Regions from separate parts of the Homo sapiens genome. Here region 1 is linked to region 2. Evidence: promoter capture Hi-C in 16 types of primary human blood cells and fetal thymus (Javierre and others, 2016). All regions are on one chromosome and are shown on one strand. The core of a region is centred on a gene start or on the middle of the fragment in contact, and the rest is flanking DNA. Distances in the headings are between cores, read along the strand shown.

Evidence for each region. The method cuts DNA at HindIII sites, captures the fragments that hold promoters and counts their contacts. A CHiCAGO score of 5 or more calls a contact.
Region 1: a fragment that was not itself captured here is called in contact with the fragment with the promoter of KRTAP22-2 in region 2 in 1 of 17 cell types (neutrophils); the score reaches 5.2 in neutrophils.

What each region holds. Positions count from the first base shown.
Region 1 is chr21:30,667,808-30,670,877 of GRCh38, forward strand. No RefSeq gene overlaps it. Among named protein-coding and RNA genes, the nearest start is that of KRTAP20-3, 26 kb to the left of the region's middle. The HindIII fragment of the contact is 8,660 bases long and covers 1-3,070 here.
Region 2 is chr21:30,588,907-30,592,022 of GRCh38, forward strand. KRTAP22-2 (keratin associated protein 22-2) reads right to left here and starts at 1,491. Exons shown (of 1, transcript NM_001164434.1): 1 at 1,199-1,491. The coding sequence starts at 1,468. The coding sequence ends at 1,331. The HindIII fragment of the contact is 4,540 bases long and covers 1-1,800 here.

The sequences.
Region 1 (3,070 bases), core at 203-2,702, 79 kb after region 2:
TATGCCATCTTCACTGAGTTTTTGTGAAAAATAAATAGGTTAGTACCTGTAAGATGCTTAGTAGACTGGCTGGCACATAACAGCACTCAGTAAAGATCATATACATCTATGTTTATCTTCCCACAAAGTAATAAGCTAAAGATAATTAAATTATCTATTAATCAGAGTTCACAAAAAAAATAATTTTAAATGATCCAGGTATATGATTTGCCTGTGCCTCCACCCAAATCTTAATTGTAACTTTTATATTTCCCACATGTCATGGGGAAAAGCCGGTGGGAGGTGATTGAATTATGGGGGCAGGTCTTTCCTGCACTGCTCTCATGACCAGTGAATGCGTCCCATGAAATATGATGGTTTTAAAAATGGGAGTTTCCCTGCACAAACTCTCTTCCCTTGTCTGCTGCCATGTGAGACATGCCTTTTACCTTCCACCATGATTGTGAGGTCTCCCCAGCCACATGGAACTGTAAGTACAATTAAAACCTATTTTTCTTCCCAGTCTCAGGTATGTCTTTATCAGCAGTGTGAAAACAAACTAATAGAGTAAATTGGTACCAGTAAAGTGAGGTGCTGCTAAAGATACCTGATAGTGTGGAAGCAACTTTGGAACTGGGTAACAGGCAGGGGTTGGAACAGTCAGGAGGGATCAGAAGAAGACAGGAAAAATGTGGGAAAGTCAGAAACTTCCTAGAGATGTGTTGAATGGCTTTGACAAAGATGATGCTGATAGTGATATGGAAAATAGCATCCAGGTCGGGGTGGTCTCAGATGGAGATAAGGAACTTGCTGGGAATTGGAGCAGAGGTGACCCTTCTTATGTTTTACAAAGAGACTGGCAGCATTTTGACCCTGCCCTAGAGATCTGTGGAACTTTGAACTTGAGAGAGATGCTTTAGGGTAACTGTCAGAAGACATTTCTAAGCAGCAAAGCATTCAAGATGTGACTTGGGTGCTCTTAAAGACATTCAGTTTTAAAAGGGAAGCAGAGCATAAAAGTTTGGAAAATTTGCAGCCTGACAATGAAATAGAAAAGAAAATCCCATTTTCCAAGGAGAAATTCAAGCTGGCTGCAGAAATTTGCATAAGTAGCAATGAGCTGAATGTTAATCCCCAAGACAATGGGGAAAACATCTCCAGAGCATGTCAAAGGCCTTCACGGCAGCTCCTCCCATCACAGGCCCAGAGGCCTAGGAAGAAAAAGGTGATTTACTGGGCCAAGCCCAGTGTCTCTGTGCTGTGTGCAACCTAGGGACTTGGTTCCCTGTGTCCAAGCCACTCTAGCCATGGCTGAAAGGGGCCAATACAGAGCTCAGGCCATGACTTCACAGGGAGCAAGCCTCAAGCCTTGGCAGCTTCCTGGGGCTGTGAAGCCTACCAGTGCACGGAAATCAAGAATTGAGGTTTGGGAACCTATGCCTGGATTGCTGAGCATGTATGGAAATGCCTGGATGTACAGGCAGAAGTTTGTTGCAGGGTCAGGGCACTCATGGAGAACCTCTGCTAAGGCAATATGAAAGGGAAATGTGGGGCCAGAGCCCCCACACAGAGTCCCTACTGGGGCACCACTGAGTGGAGCTGTGAGAAGAGGGCCAATGTCCTCCAGACCCCAGAATGGTAGATCCACAGACAGCTTGCACCATGTACCTGGAAAAGCTGCAGACACTAAATGCCAGCCCATGGAAGCAGCCAGGAGGGAGGCTGTACCCTGCAAAGCCACAGGGGCAGTGCTGCCCAAGACCATGGAAACCCACCTCTTGCATCAGCAAGACCTGGATGTGAGACATGGAGTCAATGGAGATCATCCTGGAGCTTTAAGATTTAACTGCCTTGCTGGATTTTGGACTTGCGTGGGGCCTGTAGCCCCTTTGTTTTGGCCAATTTCTCCTATTTGGTATGGCTATATTTACCCAGTGCCTGTACCCCCATTGTGTCTAGGAATTAACTAACTTGCTTTTGATTTTACAGGCTCATAGGTGGAAGGGACTTGCCTTGTCTCAGATGAGATTGGAATGTGGACTTTTAAGTTAATGCTGAAATGAGTTAAGACTTTGGGGTACTGTTGGGAAGGCATTATTGGTTTTGGAATGTGAAGACATGGAATTTTGGAGGGGCCAGGGGCAGAATCATAAGGTCTGGCTCTGTCCTCACCCAAATATCATCTTGAATTGTAACTCACACAATTCCCACGTGTCATGGGAAGAAGCCGGTGGGAGGTGATTGAATTATGGGTGCGGGTCTTTCCTGTGTTGCTCTTGTGATAGTGAATGAGTCTCATGAGATCTGATGGTTTTAAAAACAGGAGTTTCCCTGCACAACTCTCTTCTCTTGTCTGCCACCATGTGAGATGTGCCTTTTACATTCCACCATGATTACAAGGCCTCTCCAGCCACATGGAACTCTAAGTCCATTAAAACCTCTTTTTCTTTCCAATCTCAGGTATGTCTTTATCAGCAGAATGAAAACAGACTAATACACCAGGAAAAATGTAACTCAAATTATAATGTGTCTTATATGTTTCTTAGAATTTTCTGTTTTATCTAACTATACATATCCCTCTGCAGTATTCTAAAAAACCAGACCTATTTAATTGAAAAGTACAGTCCTATAACTGGATACTCAGTATCACTGAAATAAATGAATAAATTTTAACTGGTAATTGAAAAAGAATTATTAGTTGCAGCTCATGATGATGATGATGACTATGATGAAATCAGAAATTTCCACATGATCTAATGATTGTCACTGAATTACTGGCACAGCTAATATATATCATCTCAAGAAACCTGTACCCTTTCCTTATTACAGTGTTCCATTCACTGTAATAGAGCTTCCCAGGAACAGGCTATTCAGTACGTATGTGCTGGACTTCTCAAGCATCTACTTTCATGAGCCATTTAATCTGTCCTACTATGCCACAGAGAGCTTAGCACACGTGAAACTACTTGAGGGGGAAAAAGACGCAATTTCTATGAGCATATCAAATTCCACCCAAACTGACATTGGCAGATCATAGCGCACTACAGAAACAGATAGTATGGGCACCAAACCCAGAATAAGAATCTGTGAT
Region 2 (3,116 bases), core at 241-2,740:
CAACTTCTCTGCCCAGTCACTGGTTGGGCAAGTTGGGTTGGAACTGCTAATGGATTGACTTTTTCACTCCAGGGAGGAAGGAATAGACAGCAATACAGTATTTTCACTTCCGTTTGCTTTCAGAAAGCCTGCACTTGGGGGCTGGGAGATACTTCACTAGTCTCATATTGATCTATAAAGTGTGATCCCTACGTTGATCGTTGGTAGTTCTGCTACATTTAAGAGTAGCAAATGAATTAATATGTACTATTATCTGTTTATATTTTATTCTGATTGCTTTATCATAATTAATGACTAATCATTAATAATATTTAATAAGTGGATGGAATAAACATGATAAATTATCACAGGGAGTTTCATAGAAAGTCAGCTCTCATAATTAAGACCTATCACCAGAATGCATTTGGGCCAGAAATGTGGTTTGCAAGATGTTATTCTATCCAAGTCACCACTTTAAAAAATAGTAACAGGAATTCTGCTAGAAGATGATCAGAGTTAGAAAAACTCAAAAGAGTCACTTAGATCTCTAAATGAGGTGATCTTTGCTGTGGAAACACAGGATTATCAGGCATACCAACCAGCTTCATATAGAGGATTCTTATCTATAAGAGTGAGTGAAAAGAGGTCAGAGTACTCAATGCAGGGCTGGAGTTGTATCAGTACAGAAGCACATGTTTAAATGTAGACTATTAGGAGAGAGAAAATTGCAGTAGAAAATAGCTTGGTGGGTAATAGTGCTACTGGTTTTGCCAATTACCTAGGTCAAACATTGAATTTTTCTAAAATGAAACTTGCATTAGATCAATATAGAGAACAGTATTCTTGAAACTGAACTTGAAATTACTTTTATACAAACATTTTTGGAAAAACATCAGTCATGAGTTGCCTGTTTTGTCACATCACTGACTAAAATAGCCACAGGTAGCAATTTCACTCTCTCTTTCTATTTCTCCCTTTCTCTCTCTCTCTCTCTTTCACACACACACACACACACACACACACACACAAATACACAAATGATAAAGAGAAATGAATATATATGATAAGCAATACATATTGTGAAAGTGATTATATTTATTAAAATGCAAATTTATAAGTTTTCCTGCATGGAAATTGTTAATATTATAACAGACATAAACACATAAAACTAACAAAATATCAAAGGATTTTCCCACTAACTGGTAGGAAATTCCACTAATCCAATGCAAATATGACCTGTGGTAATCAATAATTAGAGTTAGTTAAAATTGGAGAGACAATAACGAATCCATAAATAACCCTGTTGATGCAATTAGTGCATCACAAGAAAATGGCTCAAAGTGATCAGCAATCAGAATTTCTTTCTAGGAGCCAATAGGAATCTTCCATAGGAGCACGGAAAGTTGCAGGCATATCCAGAGTTACCATATTCAGAGCCATAGCTGCAACCATAGTCCAGGCTACCATAATAGTTGTGGTAGTAGCACATGGTGTCAGAAGATGGAGTTCAATTGAGGCAGATAGTAGTTTCTGAAATTTGACTCTCCTGATTTGTACAAATTATTTTATCCAACCTGAGTTATATGTGAAGGAAACCACAATCTACATTGGACTCATTCTCACAACTAATTTGCATTAAGATTAAAAAAACCCTCAAGAATCTCTTAGCCATATGTCCAGGAAAATATTAATATTGCTATGTGTCAGGATGCCAACAAGTAAAATCATGAGCCTTAAGGAGATATTCTCTTAATTTTGTGGCTTTTGCTTACTTAAAATCCCAATTTAAACTTGATGATTAGCTTCTCTGTGATCACATTAAGCTTATATTTCCTGCCTCTTGAAACATTTCTTTTTTCTTTTTCAATATCCTCCTCTACCTCCATAAATGCAGTCCTTAAACCACAGAGTGGCCAGGAATGGTTAGGGAAGGTTGGCTATGCAGTGAGGAAGCCGATGAAAATGTCTTTATTTACTTGCAAATATGCCTGTATGTTTTGACTAATTTATTTCTTAATCAATGGGACTAAAAATTTTCTTCCAAGTTCATATGTAGCTTATGTTCTTGGAGTAGTAAAGTTTTTTCTCTTCCATCATCCTCACTTTGGTTATATTATTAGTTGTGGTGTTCTCTTTGCATCTGAGAAAGCAATTAGAAACAATTACCCACCGTATCTCAAAATTCATGTTTTCCTCTCCTGACACATAATATTCACATATTTTACCTTCTTTTTATATTTAATGAATTTGCTTATTTTAAAATATATTAATTCCAAATTTCCAAAAGTATTGTAAAAATACTTTTCATCTTCTAGCAGAATTCCTGTTACTATTTTTTAAAGTGGTGACTTGGATAGAATAACATCAGCAAACCACATTTCTGGCCCAAATGCATTCTGGTGATAGCCTTAATTATGAGAGCTGACTTTCTATGAAGCTCCCTGTGATAATTTGTCACGTTTATTCCATCCACTTATTAAATATTATTAATGAATTATTAGTCATTTATTATGATAAAGCAATTAGAATAAAATATAAACAAATAATAGTACATATTAATTCATTTGCTACTCTTAAATGTAGCAGAACTACCAATGATCAACCTAGGGATCATACTTTGTAGATCAATGTGAGACTGGCAAAGTATCATATCAATAAGAGGCAAGTAGAACATTTAGTCAGAATTTCGGAACTGCACACAGTAGTTCATAAACTTTAGTGGATATATACCACCACCTTAACAATCGGAAAAGGCATGGATTCTCAAACCAGAAAAAAATCACCATGATAAATTCCTCCACTGGTTTGCATATGATCCAAAAGGATCCCAGAGTACATGAATTTATCCCCAGTTACCCCAAGCATAGAACAAAGATTGTGATTATTCTACACAGAATTTGAGTATAGAAAGTTGCATCATGTCATTCATTTGGTTATTTTTTCACTAATTCATCAAATCTTTATTAAGAATCTGCTGTATCAGGCACCGTTATAAGAAATGCAGATTGAGCAGATGAACAAAATAGACAAAGTCTCTACTTTCTGCAGGTTACAATGAGACAGAAGGGATAGAGAGACTGATTTTAAAAATGAATGAAATAGATTCTAACAGTGAAGAATCCTGTGAGAATAATAAA